2 separate regions of the Homo sapiens genome follow, and region 2 is linked to region 1. The links are contacts of gene promoters, found by promoter capture Hi-C in blood cells and fetal thymus (Javierre and others, 2016). All regions are on one chromosome and are shown on one strand. Each heading gives the region's core, a stretch centred on a gene start or on the middle of the fragment in contact. The rest is flanking DNA. Distances are from core to core; before and after follow the strand shown.

What was found. Contacts are between HindIII fragments. The CHiCAGO score rates a contact against its expected background, and 5 or more counts as called.
Region 2: the fragment with the promoter of DTX4 here is called in contact with the fragment with the promoter of STX3 in region 1 in 4 of 17 cell types (non-activated CD4 T cells, neutrophils, activated CD4 T cells and 1 more); the score reaches 6.3 in non-activated CD4 T cells.

What each region holds. Positions count from the first base shown.
Region 1 is chr11:59,752,856-59,758,382 of GRCh38, reverse strand. STX3 (syntaxin 3) reads right to left here and starts at 3,007. Exons shown (of 11, transcript NM_004177.5): 1 at 2,748-3,007. The coding sequence starts at 2,777. RefSeq lists a silencer at 2,807-3,066 and enhancers at 3,937-4,096, 4,033-4,327, 4,093-4,387, 4,077-4,577. The HindIII fragment of the contact is 11,536 bases long and covers 129-5,527 here.
Region 2 is chr11:59,169,616-59,175,142 of GRCh38, reverse strand. DTX4 (deltex E3 ubiquitin ligase 4) reads right to left here and starts at 3,011. Exons shown (of 9, transcript NM_015177.2): 1 at 2,337-3,011. The coding sequence starts at 2,547. It overlaps LOC124902601 (basic proline-rich protein-like), which reads left to right and starts at 1,698. Exons shown (of 2, transcript XM_047427951.1): 1 at 1,698-1,878; 2 at 2,413-5,068. The coding sequence starts at 1,698. The coding sequence ends at 3,221. It overlaps LOC124902675 (a long non-coding RNA gene), which reads left to right. Exons shown (of 4, transcript XR_007062682.1): 4 at 646-1,444. RefSeq lists silencers at 178-247, 2,395-2,444, 2,505-3,074 and enhancers at 1,945-2,054, 1,497-2,325, 2,953-3,247, 3,334-3,874. The HindIII fragment of the contact is 13,201 bases long and covers 1-5,527 here.

The sequences.
Region 1 (5,527 bases), core at 1,758-4,257:
ACAGGCTCACAATTAAGCATTTTATAAAACCACACATTCTTAAGGTTGGTGAAGGCCTTATATCTCCTAGTTCACCTCCCCTCCAAGAGATGCTCAAATTCCTACAACATTCAAAATCCCAACAAGCTTCTTGCTTCCTTCCCATGCTGGAGGGTGCACCATCTACTCCATCCTTGGGCAGCTCTGTCTACTAAAAACGCTTTCTTACAGATTCCTCATTTCTACCCATCAACCCCACATGTTCTCTTTGTATCTACCCAGAACAAAGTCAATCACAGGCACGGAAAGCCCTCCAGTTATCGGGAGGCAGTTACCACCTCCCCTCCCCAGGATTTAGAAAGAACACCACAGAAAGAGATTGCATAGGCTGCTCAATGTGCAATTTGTTTCATGCAGGTTAACAAACGCTTCTAATTGATAACGGAAATCAGAGGGAGAAGACGCATATCTTGTTTCAGTGAGGGTGATCCCTGGGAGTCTGGCTGGGGAGAGGGGATAAGAGGAGGTGAACTGACACCAAAATCCACATAAACCTTAACAGTCTTCAAAGAAAAACCTATAATAACGCCAGAGGGGGCTTCTGAGATCAACTCAATTCTTTGTTGTATAAAGGAGGAATTGAGAAGCAGAGAAGTGACGCAAAGAAGCACAGTGATCAGTCTTGGAACCTGCCACCTGTGTCCCTTTGTCCCACGCTGCCATGCATCTGCTCCAAGACGCTACAGAAGCCACCCTGTGATTTCAGAACAATCCTCCCATAATACCACCACCATCTCCAGTCTCACTTTCACCACATCCCCAAGAGGGAAGGGGAGGAAACCTATCATTAATTCCATTGTACAGAGGGTAACCATGAGGCACCGAGGAGAGGCAAAGAGACTTGCTCAGCGTCCCCAGGCAAATTAAATTTATTCTTGGAACTCAAAGCTCAGTTAAGACTCTTTGCTCATTGTTGACAATGAGCTACTGAAAGGGGCCATGGAGTATCTTCCTCTGGAAGTGGATTTCCTAATAAATGGAAGAGCCTGCTGTTCAGTTTTGTACTTTTTTATGGTTGCTGGGTGTGCCGACACAGAGAGATCTTCAAAATCGTGCTCTTCTTTTCCTTCTGCCTCCCCAACCAGCGTGCTTCAAGGGAAGGAGCACTGTGGAGAGTGTCAAGAGCCTGGGTTCCTCTCCTGGTGGTGCCCTGGCCGGCTCTGTGTCCTGGAGCATCCCTCCTACCCCGTGAGCAGCAGTTTCCCCATCTATAAAAACAGGGGCAATAAATTCTGCCCCATCAGTAACCTGGACGCTGTGAGGCTGAGATGACTAAGCACAAGCCTGAGGCAGAGAGGCCACTCCCACAATAGGCAACTGTCCCTTTGCTTCTCTCACTTCCCCAGCTACCTGCCTCCTCCGCAGCCCTGCTACACAGAACAGGTGAAACAGGAATGAAGGTCTCATCCAAGCAAGGGAGAAAAAGGATAAACTCTTGTAACATCATCCCAGCAGTCCCTGACATCTGCATTTTCCCAAGAGCACTCACAGTTATTAGCATATTTCACCATTTATTAAGTCCCCCGTGCCATGCACCCTAAAAGTGTTCTTAAGCATCTTCTGTTGCATTTCGACCTTACAACTACCCATTTTACAAATGACAAAACTTAGGCTGGGATTTTAAGGGATCACCAGTAAGCAGTGGAGCCAGGAGACAACCCCAGTTCTAATCCAGTCCAGTGCTTCCCAAACTGTAATGTGCCCATGAATCACCTGGGGAAATGGATGAATAATTAGATTCTGATTCTGCGGGGCTAGACTCAGGCCTAAGCTGCTACACTTGTAACAAGCTCCAAAGTAGATGGACTAAACTCTTGAGTGTCAAGGGCTAGATTTTAATTCTATTAAGGTAGAACCTGTGCCACTGAATCTCCAAGGCTTAGCACTGGACCTCCCCATAGAATACACTCAATAATTATGTACTGAATGAGTCAATGAATATCTGGCTTAAAACCCTATGCGTTAACCCTTTTCTGTATCAAGTTCCATTGTATCAGCTGATCCTCCCAACAAATTCCTAGGGTATGATCATTCCCATTTGATAGATAAGGAAACAGAGACTCACAGTAAGTAACCTAAGGCTTTACAGCTTTTGCGCAGCCAAGGCTGGAGGTAGTCTACCTTCAGATCCTTTGACCTAACCACAGCTGTTCCAAAAGATACGGCGGGGGAGGGGGGGACAATGACACCCGGGGATAACAATTACAGACCACCGGTTGGAGAGGAGCTGACCCATCCCAGCATGTGACCGGCTCACAGCTCCAGAGGTCACCAGAGAGCTCTGAGCTGCTCCCTGGGGGAAGGGGCAGCCAGGCCTGTAGCACCTCAGGAGAGAAACAGGAAAGGGAGAAGGAGGCTGGTCCTGGGCATAGTGCCAGGCAGCAGTGGGCAGGTGGTGAAGGGACCCCTGACCTCCCGGGCCCAAGCACCCGCTTCGGGAACCAGCTCTGGACAGACACTGTCCAGCTTGCGGGGTGGGAGAGTTAGAGGCGTTCAGGAAAATCATTGCCTAGCGATGAATCACCGGGCACATGACCCCGCAGGGGAGGGGAGGGGAGGGTGCGGAACCGGCGCGGGAAGCGGTGGGGGCTTGGGGAGGGCAAGCCTCCGGCTCGGGCCCCCCTCCAGCCTCGACTTGGGGAGCAAAGGGAAGCCCCTCTCCCATGCAGCACCCCTCCTGGCAGCACCCCGCCTGCGGCGAAACTCACGGCCTTCAGCTGCTCCAGACGGTCCTTCATCCTGAAGCCCAGGCGCCCGGAGGCAGGTAGCGCGTCCCAGGTGAGCGCGTCCCAGGTGAGCGCTTCCCAGGTGAGCTGCCGGAAGCGGCGGCCGGGCCCGCCGGGGCGAAGGAGCTGGAGGCGCAGGCGGCGGCGGGCGGCGGCCGCTAGCTAGGAGGAGCGTCCGAGGCCACGGGAGCCTCCGCCGCGCAGCCCCCTCCGCCCCCACCGGCGCCTCGCGCTCCAAATCCGGCTCCCGGGCCGGCGCCGGCGCAGCGCTGATCCGCCCTGGACCCGCCCCTACCTGGCCGCGCCCCTCGCTCCTTCTTAAAGGGCCCGCGTCCCGCCACCGCCCGGCCGCCCGGGGCGTCTCCAAAGCCCCCTTCCCTAACCCGAGAGCCCTCCAGACACGCGTGGAGTCCGGGGAGAGGCCCCTGCACCGGCGGATCCTGCCGCAGGGCCGAGGAAGAGCAAGAGCGACTGTCTGGCTGCGGTCATTCGCTGTCTGTGCCGGGCTCCTCGCTAGGATCCAGTTCTTAGCCGACTCCTTGCTAGGCGGGGACAAGCTCCCGAAAACAAATAAGACAATGTGATGTGGGCTACATTGGGTGGCAGTCGAGTGTTCTAAAAATATCCCGCCAGGAGGAAGGCATTCCGAGTAGCGGGATCCCGCGCAGCCTCAGGGCTGCTGGCAGTGAAAGTGGGGGGATGGAGGAGGTGTCCAGAGGAAAGACCTGGAGATCTGGAGATACAGGACGGTCAGGGTGGTCAGAGAATTTGGATCTTTTGCTTGTTGGAAATCGGGACCGCTCCGAGAAACGTAAGCAGCTCGATGTTGTTAGTGCCAGTGGAGACACTTGGCACTCACAATTTGCAGACGTTTGGGAAAGCATCGTTTCTCAAGAGGACCCCGTTCCCGTGTCTGTAAATCAGAGATGGTACCCACTTCGTAGTTCGCTGTGAAGCCTGTGAGCGAGGAGGGGCTTTAAAATACAGAACTTTGCACTGGAGCGCTCCCCGTCCTCGCAGCCTGCTTGGTGTGCAGGTGGTTCCCAGGCGGCTTCTGCTTCCGAAAAGCAGATCGTCCCTTTATCTCGAGTCTTCTCCCCGCCTCTCCCTCTTCTCCCTACCCTATTTGTCTTCTTGGGAACAAATGGCACATTCATCAGAGTGGAGATCCATAAACGGGACTGGCGAGCCGAAGATTTAATTCTGAAGAATAGGATCTGCTCTGTGCTTTCAGGTTAAAAAGCTGTAAATATCTTTGTAATTCTAGCAGTACTTTGCCCTCTTCTGCCATCTGAACGCGTGCTCCCTGCTGACCTCATCGGCTCCCATAAAGATACGGTGCGTATGGCAGAGGTCGGGCTTTGAGCCGGCCCCGCGGGTCTCGGCCGTAGTTCTCTCTCGCGTCCGGCACACTTCCTTCTGCCCGCTGTGCTCGCTGGGCAGGTTGTCCCCGCCTTAGTACCAGGAGGGCTTCCGCGCCCCCTGGTGGTCATACTAGGAAAGGCGAGTAGATCAGAAATACACACTGTCCCACCTCCTTCCCCTAACACATTTTTGGGGAGTTTGGGGGTTGTTTGTTTGTTTGTTTGTTTGTTTGTTTGTTTTTTAGACAGAGTCTCATTCTGTTGCGCAAGTTGAGTGCAGTGGCGCGATCACCGCTCTCTGCAGCCTCGATCCCCTGGGCCCAACCCATCCTCCCATCTCAGCCTCCCAAGTAGCTGGGATTACAGGCGTGCGCCACTACGCCCGGCTAATTTTTGTGTTTTTTTCGTAGAGATAGGGTTTCGCCATGTTGCCCAGGCTGGTCTGGAACTCCTGTATTCAAGCCATCCGCCCGCCTCGGCCTCTCGAAGGGCTGGGATTACAGGCGTGCGCCACTGCGCCCTGCCCCTTAACAGATTTTTGTTAGTGGGAATACGTAGTTCCCCGCGCTTCAAGAAAATAGAGTCTTCCGCGAGAGGCCGAGATATGAACAACCCTTCACGTTAGGAATCTGAAAAGGACCATTGGGGTCTGGAGTAAAAAATTCTCTTTCCACAGCAGGAATCAAGGGTGGCCTGTCTGCCTCTGCTCAGAGGGTTCCTGTTACAGGATAATTGTTTTGAAAAGAGTAAAATCATGACTCCTCTACAAATATAAAATGCACACACATCAAAGACTTTAATTCATTAATGAATGAGGAGACCAGTAAAGCTAGCCCTGTCCAGAGGAAAACACAAAGTGTACACACATATATAGGCAATCAGGAATGCTGAAACGAACATGTTAATAAATGCACAACTGGCCGGGTGCAGTGGCTCATGCCTGTAATCCCAGCACTGTGGGAGGCTGAGGCGGGCAGATCACTTGAAGTTAGGAGTTCAAGACCAGCCTGGCCAACATCTTGAAACCTCATCTCTACTAAAAATACAAAAAATTAGCCGGGCGTGATAGTGCACGCCTACAAATCCCAGCTACTCGGGAGGCTGCGGCAGAAGAATCTCTGGAACCTGGGAAGCAGAGGTTGCAGTGAACTGAGATCACACCACTGCACTCCAGCCTGGACCACAGAGCAAAACTCTGTCTTAAAAATTATATTTTTAATAAAAATAAATAATAAATGCAGAACTGGCCTCGGGGTGCTGGGAGAGCAATTGCACTTCTACCAGGCATCTCTATGGACAAGAATCATTGGCATTCCTATGAATTTTCTACAACTTACCAAGTTGGAAAATAGCTGCAAGATTTTATAAGGCAAAAATCACTAAAAAATCAGGTAATCC
Region 2 (5,527 bases), core at 1,762-4,261, 580 kb after region 1:
TTTAAAGTTCCTACCCTGTCATGGCCTCATCAATGAGATTGAGAGGAACTATGAGTGTGTTGGTGGAGAAGGGAGAGGAGGGGGCTCAGAGCTAAGAAACCCAGAGATTCTTCTATTCTTCTTTGACAAGCGCCCTGACAGACCCAGCTTTTCTGGGAATTCAGCCCAGTGTCCGCAGCACCCAGCACAGGGCCTGGCGCACAGCAGAGAGGTATTCAGGATGGCTGACTGACTCTAGCAATGAGCGGATGAAACCACAGCAGTCTGATGATAAACACACCCTGAGGCAGCCTTTAAAATGATTCAGGGCAAGTTCTCTGCCTGAGGTTTAAAGTCCAGGGAGCGCCAGCCTCTGACTAAATTGCTCACCACCAGGCAGTCCTCAGGTAAGAGTGATCAGACCTGGGAAACGTAGCTTCTTTCCTTCCACCCAGTTTTCTCTACAACTTCGCTTCTGTAGAAAGGGTCATGAACCTTTGTAGATACCTTGCCTATCCTAAGTACCCCCAAACACAGATTCCACCTTTGCCCTTTCCAAATGTGGGAAAGGGGCTGAGACGTTTCTGTCACAAGGGTGGTTTTCCAAATGCTGTAGAGATTTACTCTGAAATAGAAAAGGTAACACCTGCTTTTTTTTTTTTCCAGGACTGGAATCCCCTGTCAGATGCTTTAACTGCTGGTCTCTCTCTCTCTCTCTGGTCCCACCTCCGTGGCTCAGCTCCGCCCAACACACACCCCCTCCACCCTCACCTTCTGATGCCTCCACCCTCACCTCCACAACCTTTACCCAAGTTGCGCAATGACATTCTCTCCCTCCCCCTCAGCCACACTTAATCCTCTTTCTCAATCTCCCCACATTCCTCTCTATTCTCTGCTCCTCCCAGTCTCCCTCAGCTCCACACACGGTTGAAGCCCCTCCAGATTCTAACACTTCCAGAATCCTCTCCCCAGAAAGCTCTCCTCAATCAGCCAGTGTCTGCAGAGTCCTTGGCAAAGGGGTTGCTGGGAGTTATGACTAAAGATGGGGACATGAGGGTGGAAAGATACCCCTTTCCCATGACAATCCTAATTAGCACACAGGATGTGGGGGCTTTCCAAGGAAGCAGAGAGACTCTGCTCAAACAGCTGTTCACTGGGGAGGGCCTTTCCGAGTCATCTTCTCTACGTCCTCCCCAGCACACCGGCCTCTCCAGGCTCCTCGGTTGCACTCTTGGGAAAGCCGAGCCAGAATTCCAGAAACAATGGCCCCCTCCCCACCTGTCACTGACGGAGGCAGAAACTCTTCCCGGGTCATCGATTAAGCAAGGACCGAGCAAAGAGAGGCAGTTTTGCTCTCCCTTGGGCAGCACCCCCACTCCCCACCCCCCAAGGCCCCATCCTGGAGGCTCCCTTCCTGGCTCTGACCTGGAAAGGCAGGTCAGCTGGGAAGCGGGTTTGTGCTGGCTACAGTGACAACTTGATTCTCATGAAAAGATAGGAGTTTGGCGCTCCAGGAGACCATGGGTTCCTTACAGGCTATGGTTTCAAGAGGAAGCCTGGGGACAGTTTCTCCTTAGGAATCTGCGTCCTCCTCCTCCGCAGACAAAGGGAGCGGCTTCCCTGCCATGCATTCCGAAGCCCCGAGCCTCCCCCTCCTCTCTCCATCTGCTCCGGCCTGTTGCTTCCGCGCATGTAGTGTGTAGCAGAGGCATTCGCCAATGCCGCGGCGTCCAGGGTACCCCAGCCCTAGTCTCTCCTCCCAGGGAGCCCGGCGCTTCCCTTACCCGACTGTAGCGAGAACCTCCGGGGAATCCCTTCTTCCTCCCCCAGTTCCCACACCCAGGACCCAGCTGCGGGGAGGCATCCCACACAGGAGACGCAGAGGCAGTGAGATCGGGGGTGAGGGGACGTGTGGCAAGCCCCAGCGTGCCTGAAGCAAAACAGGGTCAGGTCAGCCAAGGTGCCGGCCGCCACGGGATGAGGGCAGGAAGCCTTTGCGAAGGGCTGGGATTGCCTGTAGTCTGGGGCGGCCCTAGAATTTCTACATAGAAAGACTTAGGGCCACCAACTGCTGAAAAGCGGGGGCATGAAAGGGGTGGGGAGTGGATTGTTACCGACTAGGTTGAAGCTGGGTTTGCAAAACCACAACACTGATACTATTTGCATGGATGTTTAAGGGGGAGGGAGGATCCTGCGAGGATTCAGCGGAGTGAATCGCCTCCCACCACCACCTCTTGGTGACACTGCTGCACAGAAGTGCCGACTAGGTGGCCAAGGTGGGTTCACAGGGAGGGAGGTACCTTGGCAGGTTGGGAAGGTGGGAGCAGGCGGGGCGGGGTCAGGGGCGGCTGGCTCACCCGTGTCTTGGCGGAACTGGTTCATGGACTGCAGGTCGATGATGTAGGGCGCGAGACGGCTGTCCACCTGGCCCAGCACCACGCTGCCCCCCGCGCGGGGGCCGGCGCGGACCACCGCCTCGATGTGGTGGCTCACCGCTGGGCTGTAGGGACGCCAGCGGCCGTGCTCGTTCAGCCATTCCCAGACCACCACGGCCGAGGCCAGGAGCATGGCGAGCCCGGGGCTGCGGCGCTGCGCGGCCCGCCTCCCGGGCCCCGAGCGCCCGACCTCCTCCGCTTCCTCCTGCGCCGCCGCCTCCGGGCCTCGACCGCGCCCCCTGCCCCGCGCCCCGCCGCCCCGGGCAGCCTCAGCTCCGGCCCATGGGCTCCTCCCCAGCCGTGCATCCACCGGGGCCGGGACACCGGGGCCGCCTGGCTGGGACCGCGCGCCGCCGCCGCCGCCGGGGTCCGCTGCTGCTGCCGCTGCTCTGTGGGGTCGAGTCGCTTCATGCAAATGCCCGGCTCTCTGCAAACAGGCCCCCGCCTTGCAAAAGCCACTCGGCGGGCGCGCGGCCCGAGCCCCGGCGGCCGCGAGCTGGGGCTGACGGCGAGGCAAGGACCCAGCCCTCGCACCAGTTGCGCCTCGGCCTCTGCAGACGCCGGGGTGGGATCTCGCCGCACGGCCGCGCTCGGAATGGCACGCTCTGGTCCCCTCCCCTCTCTCCCTCCCTCCCCACCCCTTCGCCGCACGAATTGCAGTCCCCGCCGCTGGGAGAGCTCCCCCTGCCTGTGGCTCTGCTCAGTTCCTTCCAGAATGAACCACCCCTCCCAAGCAGGGCGCTAAGGCAAACCCGCGCCCGCGTGTGTTTCCCTGGTTCCTTGATGCAGAGAAGCGACCCGCCATGACACGGCCCCGGGACCACCACTGTCGCCCAGCCGCAACTTTGCAGCCTCCTTCCCCCAAATGTAATTTTCTCTCTCTCTCTCTTTTTTTTTCCTTAATGCAGCATGATCAGTGTCCGCAGCGCGAACTGGAGACACGCATTGTCTCGGGGCTTGCGCACGCACTGGCACACTCACAGTCGCACACACACGCGCGCGCACCCCAACTCCTTCCTTGCCCCGGCTCCTATTACCTCATCCTCTCCCGCATCCTTAGCTGTCCGTCAAGGAAGCAGAAGACACGCCCCCTGCTGCTCGGGCGAGTGCCCTGGAGCTTACCCGCCCCCTGCTGGCCTAAAGTGTCGTGTGCCGGCCAGTGGCCACTCCAACCTCTGCTAATGAGACCCAGTCCAAAGGGATGCAGCAATTTCGCTAATGATGGATTTATATTACCTACGTAGAGAGCAAATGTGGTTTTTCTGGCCAGATTCAACGTACTAGAGTCAGGAAGACGCATGTTAGATTAATTTTATCTGCATCGTTTCTGTAACTAAAATTATGAAACACTAGGAAAAACACGAGTTAGACTTATTTTGATCATCAATAGTTAATATGGAAAATAACCTTAAATAGGTAGGTTCTGACTAAAAGGGAAGACTGAAGTCAGGATTATGCATTATCCTTGTCAAAGAACACAAATTTTGTTTTGTTGAGATTGCAAACCACATAAAACAACGAATCGAGTCTTATCAAGATCCAAGTTATAGGATGCGGGAAAGTAAAAATAGATTATGTGTTAGAGAATGGGATTGTGAATCTTTTTGAAATAATCAATTTTTTCATAAATATCATATGACCCTTTTATGTTTTAGAAGAGTTGCTTCCCCCTCCCTCTCCTTGCAGCTGTCATTTCTCCCATTGTTAGAATTTTGCATCCTTCTACCTTTATCTTTCTCCCAACAGAGTTCTAAATACAAAGCAAAAGAAAAAGTGTGAGATCTGTTCTTCTTCAGGCCCCTAAAGGCACCAGGCTCAAGGAACCTCTGAGCTTTGTTCTTTCTGGTCTTCTTGCACAGCTTGGCCTCCAAAATGCCTAGTCGGCCTCTCCCTTATTTGGGGACTGTTCCTAATCCAACCTAAACAATACCACTCATTAAAATGTCGAGTTTCAGAATTAGAAGAACAAAAAGAAAACAAGGATACCTCGACTAATTATATCATAGGCCATTATTATTACCATTTTACAAATGACAGGACTTAAGGAATTTAAACTATTTGCCCTAGATTACATAGCTAGTTAGAGGGGAAACCAGTATTCAAAATTTAGTTGGGCTGTCTCAAAAGAAAATGCCTGTTCCATAGCATGTCCTATACAACACAGAGGTGGCACAATAACAGGCAATGTAGAAGTGTCTCAGTGTGAAAGAAGGGAAGGGAGAAAATGGGGGTAGAATTTTCTGGAAAAGAAACAGAAGGCAAACTGAAGAAAAAGTAATTTAAAAATTTATTGGGCTACTTTTATTTCTAGTCATAAAAATGGAAAGTATCAAAACTCAGGAAACTTTCTTATAGTCTTGGTAAGTATGAATCAAAAAGTGAAGAGTAATGATTCAAGGGGATATTGGAAGTACCAGCGAAAATATAGCACCTGACCAGCTAAGCCAGAAATTCCAAGGTGAAAAAAATCTAAACTAGATAAGCAGGCTACCAGCAAATGTTAGATGAGCTGTTTGAAAGGCGAATGGAAGGCAGAAGGAAACTGACGCCTACCTGCCTATGTCCAGCCTAGTTTTGTATCTGGTCTTCTTGTATCTTCCATGTTAAACACAACAGAGTATTACAGCAGAATAAAAATATCTTATGACATGTGAGAAGGTTTGTATGTAGTCTGATTCATTTGCAAGAGGAAGTGAATACACACACACACATACACACATATACACACAAATGAGAGGGGTCTTTAAAATTTTATGGAAAATGCATATTATGAAAAAACTAGGCTGGTAGTTCAAATTGTTTTTTTGCACCCAAATAAACTCATACTAACTTGTTATAACATGTCTGAACAGGATCTAGTTTGAGACACTAAGAAGGGTAAGACAATGCCCTTACTGAAGAGGATCAAGGATTAGCAGTCAAAACAATAGCCTACACCATAGATATGTCAACTGGTTCAGCTTACACAATTCTGACAAAGAAATTAAACTTTCCATTCCTTGATAGGTGCCAAAACCATTGCACCCAGGTTGGCCACAGACAAGAGCAGGCCTTTCAATAGAGATTTTAAATGGGTGGGATCAGGATCATGAAACATTTCTTTGAAGAATTGT